Linked DNA regions of Homo sapiens: region 1 is linked to region 2. Evidence: promoter capture Hi-C in human tissues and cell types (Jung and others, 2019). All regions are on one chromosome and are shown on one strand. The core of a region is centred on a gene start or on the middle of the fragment in contact, and the rest is flanking DNA. Distances in the headings are between cores, read along the strand shown.

Evidence for each region. The method cuts DNA at HindIII sites, captures the fragments that hold promoters and counts their contacts. A contact is called where the count stands out against the background at its distance.
Region 1: a contact is called between a fragment that was not itself captured here and the fragment with the promoter of NEURL2 in region 2, in 2 of the 25 tissues and cell types used here (mesendoderm cells and thymus).

Annotation. Positions count from the first base shown.
Region 1 is chr20:45,488,948-45,493,711 of GRCh38, reverse strand. All of the region lies in intron 1 of LOC107987282 (a long non-coding RNA gene), which reads right to left. It also overlaps the pseudogene RPL5P2. Among named protein-coding and RNA genes, the nearest start is that of WFDC2, 22 kb to the right of the region's middle. The HindIII fragment of the contact is 6,084 bases long and covers 1-4,764 here.
Region 2 is chr20:45,887,615-45,892,457 of GRCh38, reverse strand. It overlaps NEURL2 (neuralized E3 ubiquitin protein ligase 2), which reads left to right and starts at 1,250. Exons shown (of 2, transcript NM_080749.4): 1 at 1,250-2,208; 2 at 3,585-3,824. The coding sequence starts at 1,467. The coding sequence ends at 3,700. It overlaps CTSA (cathepsin A), which reads right to left and starts at 1,123. Exons shown (of 15, transcript NM_000308.4): 1 at 1,079-1,123; 2 at 696-889; 3 at 431-542; 4 at 135-185; 5 at 1-60. The coding sequence starts at 889. SPATA25 (spermatogenesis associated 25) reads left to right here and starts at 4,836. Exons shown (of 2, transcript NM_080608.4): 1 at 4,836-4,843. RefSeq lists enhancers at 787-836, 1,076-1,785 and a silencer at 877-1,146. The HindIII fragment of the contact is 2,972 bases long and covers 1-1,907 here.

The DNA.
Region 1 (4,764 bases), core at 1,193-3,692, 400 kb after region 2:
TTCATATTTTTAGTAAAGACAGGGTTTCACCATGTTGGCCAGGCTGGTCTGGAACTCCTGACCTCAGGTGACCCAGGGAATACATTTTATGGAACCTGCTGGTTCAAGAAGAACCAGCTGAGCCCAGCCTAGATCAGCTGAACCCCAGCAGACCCACAGATATGGGAGTGAGAGCGAATGATTGTTGCCTTAAGTCACTGAATTTTGAGTTGGCTTGTAATTCAGCATTACTATGATTATGTTAAATGTTGTGTCTCAGGGCTCTGCGGTGTTTTAGAAACCAAGGAAGGAATACTTCCAATAAGGGAAACAATAAAGGTTTGTTTAAGGAAGCCAAGATTTCTACCTGACAGTGTGGGGGGCCTCATACCACTGGATGAAGAGTTTTTTGTTGTTTGTTTTTTGAGACGGAGTCTCGCTCTGTCCCCCAGGCTGGAGTGCAGTGGCGCCATCTTGGCTCACTGCAACCTCTGCCTCCCGGGTTCAAGCAATTCTCCTGCCTCAGCCTCCCAGGTAGCTGGGATTACAGGCACGCACCACCACACCCAGCTAATTTTTTTGTATTTTAGTAGAGACGGGGTTTCACCATGTTGGCCAGGCTGGTCTCGAGCTCCTGACCTCGTGATCTGCCAGCCTTGGCCTCCCAAAGTGCTGGGATTACAGGTGTGAGCCCCCATGCCCAGCCTGAAGCATTTTTTTAAGCCAGCTTTTGCCTGCCCTGTTGCAGTGACCTACCTGCCCTCCCTGGTTCTGCATCTCCCCTGTAGTATTCACAACACAGCAGCCAGAAGGATCCTTTTCCAACTGAAGTCATATGTCACTCTTCTGCTCAAACTCCTCCAGTGGCTCCCAAATTTGCTCCAAATAAAAGGCAAAATCCTTGCAATGAGCCACAAGGCCCTTATTCTCTGTGCCCATGCTACCTCTCTGACTTCAACTCACCTCAGGCTCCTGACCACTCATTCACCCCAGCCATGCCAGCCTCCTGGATGATCCCCAACACCCTGAGAACACTCTGACCTCAGGTCCTTTGTTCTGGAACTCTCTTCTCTCTAAATTCCTCTTCTCATGGGTTGTCACGCAGCTCATGTCCTCCTTCACTGAGTTCACTACTTGAATAATACTTTAAGACCTTCCCTGACTACTTTGCAAAGTAATCACCCCCATCTCTACCCCACCCCCAGACTCACTATTCCTCTTACCTGTGTATTTCTCCATAACTTTTCCTCCACCTAACATGTTATATATGTGTTAGTTCATTTATTTATTGGCTATCCTCTCCACCGCACACACACACACACACACACACACACACACACTCTTTTCCTTCTATCAAATCCCCACCACCTAGAATAGAACACATAGTAAGTGCTTTATAAATATTGAATGAGTGAATGCCTCTGCTGATGTTGTTTCTGGGGCAGGACCTTCCCCTCCCTGACTGGTCTGTCTTTAGAACTTTATTTTCTAAGCTCCAGCTCACTCATGTAACTTCTTACTATCGCTCCAACCCCAAACCTGCACTTTCCTGCAGAGAAGATGTCTGTTTCCATGTAGGTATTACCATACATGGCTTCCTGGGCTGGGGATGGCCTTTAGAGGCATCTGCAAAGCAGTTTGCCATCGGAAATGGGAGAAAATAAGTGCGGGAAGAAGCCCTGCCCTGACGTCTGGAGGGGCAGCTGGGCTGAGTGGTTCTGTGAGGGGCCTTGAGGTTGGCTGTCCCATCTCGATCCACCTGTTTACTGGGATTCCTGGGCCCTGGGAGCTGTTCTCCTGGCCAAAACTAAGCTTTGCTGTGGTCTGCCTATATCAAGTGTGGCCCATCAAGGCCTGGAAGAGGGGGAAGAGACCAGTCTGGGACCCTGTCCTTTTTCCTTCCCCCTTTCCAATCACAAATCTTCAGAGTCCCCAACCTACAGCATTCACTTGGCTGCAAAAGTTGATCAAAGAATGATCGTAGGGCTTCCGCCTTGCCTGGCCCCCCTTGCACGCTGCAGGTCTGTGTCAAGCCATGGACACAGCTCTCTGTTCCGGAGGATGGAGTGTGTTAAAATTGTTAAGAGTAAGGCCTACTTTAAGAGATACAGATGACATTTAGAAGACCAGTGGGTTAAACTGATTACTATGCTCAGACACACTTGGTAATCCAGGATGAAAATAAGTAGAACACACCAAAATTCAGGATAGTTCATGCAACTAACAGAGAGATCATTTGTCATATGGTTTTTGCCCACACAGAAGGGAATATGATTGTCTGCACAGCATATGTTCATGAATGTCTAAAGTGTAGCATGAAGGTTGGCCAGCCAGATTATGATGCAGCACATTGTACTGGCCTGTGCTGACCCGAAGGCCCCTCAATAGTCTTGGCATGGACAACACCTATGAAGGTCAAGTGGAGGTGAGCAGAGATGGGTATCACATGGGAAGCATTGATGGTTACTTGGTGCCTTCACTTGCTACTTGCCAGAACTACCAACGGAAATAAAGGTAGGGGGGCCCTGAAGGGAGGTGTGGATTGAGGTTTTCTATCCCTCACAGTTACCAAACAATTCCCTGGTTCCAATTCAGAAAGCAGGGAGTTCAATGCAGAAGCACATCCTGGGTCAGAAGATCGCAGATTATATGCATTACCCAATGTAAGAAGATGAAGATGTTTACAAGAAACAATTTTCTCAATACATAAAGAACAACATAACTCCAGTCATGACGGAGAGACATGTAAGAAAGCTCATGATGCTGAACAAGAGAATCCAGTTCACGAGAGGAAGCCTGGGGAAGAAGTTAAGAAAAGGTGGAACCATCCCAAGACGTCCCCTGTCCAGAAGAAAGACTGAGTAGCTCAGAAGGCAAGTTTTCTAAGAGCTCAGGAGCAGGCTGCTGAGCGCTAAGCCAAACAACTATTTTCTTGTCTTTTCTTTTTCCTTTTTCTTTTTTTTTTTCAGAGACAGAGTCTCGCTCTGTCACCCAAGTCAGAGTGCAGTGGCACAATCATAGCTCACTGTAGCCTCCAACTCCTGGGCTCAAGCAATCCTCCCCCACTTGGCCTTCCAAGTACTTAGGAATATAGGCACGTTCCACCACGTCTGGCAAATAGTCATTTTCTATAAGATTATTCAGATAAAAACAATAAACTTATTGACCAAGCAGCTTAAAAAAGAAAATTAAAGGAAGGGTCTCAGCCAGAGGTTCTGCCTCGTCTAACCCACCCCTGCTTTCTTACCTGCCCCATCCCACCTCTCAGTCCTCCTTCCCTGGTAGCTTCTTCCTGTGCATTACTGAGATCCCTGGCAACTTCCACCTCATCTTCTGCAGGAGGCCTCTGGGCTAGGGACCCCTTGAAAAAGCTTTACCCCCTCTTAAGCTTCTGGTGGAGGGCCTGAGGTCCCATCTCCTTTGGACCCCTGCTCAGGGTCCCCTGTGCAGTCTTCTTACTCAGTAAAACCTCAACTGCCAGGTCTGACTTTTCACCATTAGCATTTTATTTCTTGAGTTAAATCAGGGGTAGCAAATCTATCTATCAACCCCAATCAATGGGCAGCTGTAGCAGCTGCCTGGAGCCCTGTGCTGAGGGCTCTGTGGCCACACATGGGCTAATGGAAAGGAGCAGCAATCATGTGATATGGGTGCTGGTGGAAGAAATGATGGCATGTGGACACCTTTGCCATCCCTGGGTTAGACATCACCCTGCCTGGGCCACTCTTTCAGAATGCAAACCTGTAGAAGGACAGGAGAAAGTGGAGCTAGTGGTAGTCACACACCGAGTTCCCAGCAACTCTTCCCAACCCATCACTGGATGCCTCTGTTTCTGCCTAAAAGGTTGGGGAGCCCCGAGCATGGACAAAAATAGAAATCAGAAAGTGGGGAGCTGGGAAAATCTACACTGCCATCTCTGGCCAAGGGGCTATCATATGCACAAAGCATCCCCACTCCCACCAGGAGGCTCTATCAGTTTGTGCCCCTGGGAGTGAATGGAGATGCCCTGGGGCCTTGTCTGGTCCCTGGTCCCTGGTCCCACAAGAAGATGAGGAAGATAAAGCCTGATAGACACCAAGCCAGGCTGGCCAGATATTCCAGACAATGTCACTGAAACTTTCCAGATCTCTCATGTTCCACGGTGGGTAGAGAAGGGAAGGACATGAAGGCTGTTCCTGGGGGGCCAGAGTCACTGACATTACTCCCTTATTCTCCTTCTCCCTCACCCCAAAGGATAAGCATACACCCCAGGATTAAAGTAAGAAATCATTGTGTCAGAGGCCTTCCAACCAGAGTGACTCCATCTTGAATAGGGGCTGGATAAAATAAGGGTGAGACCTGCTTGGCTACATTCCCAGAGGGTTAGGCATTCTTAGTCACAGGATGAGATAGGAGGTTGGCACAAGATACAGGTCACAGACCCTGCTAATAAATCAGGATGTGGTAAAGAACCCAGCCGAAACCCACTGAAACCAAGATGGCAATGAAAGTGACCTCTGGTCATCCTCAATGCTTATTCTATGCTAATCATAATGCATTAGCATGCTAAAAGACACTCCTATCAGTGCCATGACAATTTACAAACACCATGGCAACACTCAGAAGTTATCCTATATAGACTAAAAAGGGGAGGGATCCTCAGTTCTGGGAAATCTCTTCCCCTCTCCATGAAAACTCATGAATAATCCACCCGTTTTAGCATATAATCAAGAAATAACCATAAAAATCTTGAACCAGCAACCCTTGGGGCTGCTCTGCCCATGGAGTAGCCACTCTTTTTCCCTT
Region 2 (4,843 bases), core at 1-2,500:
GTCATCGGAGTAGGAGAAGCCCACCCCAGCTGGGGACTCCAGGTATAACACATTGGCAATCTAGAGGGGAGGGAAAAATTAGCTAAATGCCACCCCATCCAAGTGCCCAGACACACCCACAGCTCCAGCTATACCAGATTCCAAGAATAGGGGTTGTACTCCAGGGTGACACCATCTGGCTGGACCTGAGGAGGAAAGAGATGGCTGAGTAAGTCCCAAGGGCCAGCTGGGTGGAGGGAAAGGGCCACCATGAGAGGCACTTTACATGTGGGTAAAACCTCTGAGAGGTACAGGCAGCAAAGCCAATGGCATAGAGGAAAATCCCGAGGCTTAGAAGGAAGGAAACTTTTTGGAAAATCACAAAGCCCCTCTCTCGCTTTCCCCAGCCTTTTACTTTGGGAACTGTGCTTTCCCCCTGCTGTCCACTCACCAGGAAGGGGCCATGCTCTGTGAGGAGCCCATCTAGTGAGCTGCAGCCGGGACCCCCATTGAGCCAAAGCACCACAGGGCTGTTCTCGGGATCCTTCTGGGACTCCACAAACCTGGGAGGGGGGTCAGGGCAGGGTTGGCGCAGTTGGAGGGGCCCTTTCCAGCCCTCCCGGCTCCCAGGCATCCTCAGGGGTCTGCAGAACTACCCCCCATCCCTCATCCGTCATCTCTTCTCCCAATCCCGCCCAGAAGGCAGGGCGGCAGACCAGTAGTGGAGGTGCTTGGAGCCGGAGCCTTTGAGGTAGCCGGAGTACTGGCGGAAAGACGGCTGCTTGGCCAGCCCGGGGAGGCGCTGGATCTCGTCCTGGTCGGGGGCTGCCTCGCCTCGGGACGCCCAGGACACTAGCAGCAGCAGCAGCAGCAGCAGCAGGAACAGCGGCGGCGGCGCGGCTCGGATCATCTACGGGAGGCAGCAGAGGGGCTGTTGACTCGCTCCTCAGCGCTTCCGTGCAGCAGCCCCCGGGGAGTTGCTGGCGGCGCCTCCGCGAGGGAAGCCCCGGCCCCAGCGCCAGCTCCCACCCGCGAGCCTCCTCTGCCGCGCACCGATCCCGGGCTCGGGGATCCCCTCCAGCCTCCGGTGCCAGCTCACCTCTGCTCCCCCGCGTCCTTGCTCTCCAGGAGGCGCCCGGGGACTGGAAGTCATGTGTACGAGTCACGTGAACTCCGGCGCCACGTGACAGTCTTCCTCCCGCCCCTTCTTTGGTCCCTACGGACCTGGGGGGCGGTGGCGGTCAATGCCGGGTCAAGGTCCGCGGGCCTCGCAGATCGTAGCCCGGGCGCACGCGATCAGATGATCCTGTTGTGGACGGCTAAGTTGTAGGCGGGATGGCTGAGAAAGCGGCGCTAGGACCCCCGGGCAGAGGCTCGGGGAAGGGAGTCAGGGGGGAAATGCCTTACAAGGTCGCCTTGCGGTCACCATCATTGCCCGCCGCCCAAAATAGCCCCCGGCGCCAGCTGGCCTGCCCTATGGCCGAGAGATGGCTGCTGCCTCCGAGCCCGTGGATTCGGGTGCACTCTGGGGACTCGAGCGCCCGGAGCCCCCTCCCACCCGCTTCCATCGGGTGCACGGTGCCAACATCCGCGTGGACCCCTCTGGGACGCGGGCCACACGCGTGGAGAGCTTCGCCCACGGCGTGTGCTTCAGCCGCGAGCCGCTGGCCCCGGGCCAGGTCTTCCTGGTCGAGATCGAGGAGAAAGAGCTGGGCTGGTGCGGACATCTGCGTCTCGGTCTGACCGCGCTGGACCCCGCCAGTCTGGCCCCCGTTCCCGAGTTTTCTCTGCCCGATCTGGTCAACCTGGGCCACACCTGGGTCTTCGCCATCACGCGCCACCACAACCGCGTGCCCCGGGAGGGCCGCCCGGAGGCGGAGGCAGCGGCCCCCAGCCGACCTCCAACCCTCCTCGTGGAACCATATCTGCGCATTGAGCAGTTTCGCATTCCCCGGGACCGCCTGGTGGGCCGCAGCCGGCCAGGGCTCTACAGCCATCTCTTGGACCAGCTCTATGAGCTGAACGTGCTGCCTCCGACCGCGCGCCGTAGCCGCCTGGGTGTCCTCTTTTGCCCGCGCCCCGATGGCACGGCCGACATGCACATCATCATCAACGGCGAGGACATGGGCCCGAGCGCCCGGGGACTGCCAGCTGCGCAGCCCCTCTACGCGGTGGTGGACGTGTTTGCTTCCACAAAGAGCGTGCGCCTTGTCCAGCTCGAGTATGGCTGTAGGTATCCCTGGGCAGCGACCCCTCCTGGCTCAGTGTGGGGACTGGAATCTACTAGGGCTCCGTAGCCCATGTGCTAGGCCTTCGTCTGTCCGGCACTAGTTTAAGAGTGGGAGAATCTAGCTTCAAATTGCACCTCTGCTTGTGATCTTGCACAAGCCTCTACATGGTTTTGGGCCTTGGTACCTATCTTGGTTGATTGATTAAGATGCCCTACAAGTTCCCTTTTAGTTTTGATAGTGTTTCCTGTATTCACCTAGGGCAGGGATTCTAAACCAATTTTAGATATTAGGGGCCTCTTTGAGAATTGTTTGCCCTTTTCTTAGAAACATGCTTGGCCGGGCACAGTGGCTCACACCTGTAATCCCAGCACTTTGGGAGGGGGAGGCAGGCAGATCACTTGAGGCCAGGAGTTCGAGACCAGCCTGGCCAACATGGTGAAAGCCTGTCTCTACTAAAAATACAAAAAGTAGCTGGGTGTGGTGGCATGTGCCAATAATCCCAGCTATTCAGAAGGCTGAGGCAGGAGAGTCACTTGAACCCGAGAGGTGGAGGTTGCAATGAGCCGAGATCTCACCAGTGCACTCCAGCCTAGGCAACAGAGCAAGACTCTGAAAAAAAAAAGAAAGAGAGAGAGAGAGGAAGAGAGAGAAAGCAAGCAAGCAAGCAAGCTAGCTAGCTCAAGCCTGGGCAACAAAGTGAGACCCCATCTGTACAAAAAATTAAATAATTATCTGGGCATGGTGGTGCATGCCTGTAGTCCCAGCTATTTGGGAGGCTAAGGCAGGAGGATCGCTTGAGCCCAAGAATTGAAGGCTGCAGTTCACTGAGCACTGCACTTCAGCCTGGGTGACAGAGCAAGACCCTCTCTCTTTAAATAAAAAAAAAAAAAGAAAGAAAAGAAAGAAACATGCTCATAGACTTGGGCATATTGGCTATTGGCTTCGAGGCATAACAAACCCCAGACTGAGAGCTTCTTAATGCTGAGTATGATTCATTATAGCCCTGGTAAGCATTGCAGTTATACCTCTCATCACATTTCATGAACTCAATGCACCAGAACCCTCTTTGTGCCAGGCCTGTGCTGGAGGCTTCAGTTGCACAGGCAAATCAGACACTACCCCTGCCCCCAGAAGCTGCTAAGTGAATGGGGAAGGGATTGTGCTAAGTGTTATGATATAAACAGGGCTGCAGCTTTGTGGCAGCTCTCAGGAAGAGGTGCTTCTCTCAGCCCCATGAAGCAGGCTGGGCCCAGAGAGCAGTAAGGACTTGCCCACATTTAATGACAAAGTGGGGACCATGACCTAGACCTTCTGGATCTTGGCCTCAGACCCACCCTCCAGTTCAGTTTGCCTTTCACAGTCTTCTTCCCACAGTGCCATCCCTGCAGACTCTGTGCCGCCTAGTGATACAAAGGAGCATGGTGCACCGGCTGGCCATTGATGGGCTCCACCTGCCCAAAGAACTTAAGGATTTCTGCAAGTATGAGTGAAGACCCACAGTGCACCAGAGCACAGCTGCATCCTGGAGCCCCAGACCTGTGGCTGGCTGGTCCGAAGTTGGCCACATTGCTGCCAGCCAAGACCAGAAATAAACAGCCGATGCTGACATCTTGATCACTGGAAGGTCTCCTTGCCCCTACAGCCTATGAGAGTCACTTCGTTTAGAATCACTGCAGGTCAGCAGGTCGGAGCAAAAGAGCAGGGGTCCCTAGGCTGGCTGCTTGTTAGAGTCATCTTAGGATATGTAAAGAGTGCTGGTGTCCCACATCCCATCCCTAGGGATTCGTATTTGATTTGTTGGGAAATTAGGCCTAGACATTGTGTTTTGTAAAAGCTTCTCAAGAGATTCTCATGTACAGCCAGGGTTGAGAAGTATGTCCCTAGAAAAAAGGTTCCAACTTTGTCATATATTATAATCACTTGAGGAATTTTGAAAAATACCAATACCTGGCCTGTAATCCCAGCACTTTGGGAGGCCGAGGTGGGCAGATCACTTGAGGTCAGGAGTTTGAGACCAGCCTGGCCAACATGGTGAAACCCTGTCTCTACTAAAAATACAAAAGTTAGCCAGGTGTGGTGGCAGGTTCCTGTAGTCCCAGCTACTCGGGAGGCTGAGGCAGGAGAATTGCATGAACCCAGGAGGCAGAGGTTGCAGTGAGCTGAGGTCTTGCTCCTGCACTCCAGCCTTCCAGTCATGGCGACAAAGTGAGACTCTGTCTCAAAAAAAGAAAAAGAAAAATACCAATACTGGGTCTGACCCGAAGTCTTACTCTACAAGGCACGAAGCACTTGGCTCCTGTGTTTCCATCTCTGGTCATCTGCTTCCATACAAATGATCTCATTTCATCCTCAAAACTCCTAATGAGGTAGTGGGCAGTCATCAGACACACTTTACAGATAAGGATATCAAGGAACAAAACTATCTGGGTGACTCGTTCAAGGTTAGGGCAAGAACCTAGAACACCCAGCTCCTGGTCTGGTGCTCTTTTAACCTCATCCTATTGTCATGTCCAGGTTCTAGAATGAATAGGTCAACGCTGTAAAGTGGATTCCAAGTGTGAAGGGGAGGGTCTATGAGGTGACATTCTAGAAGGGTGAAGAAGGGAGGACAGGCGGCAGATCACTATTCCCTC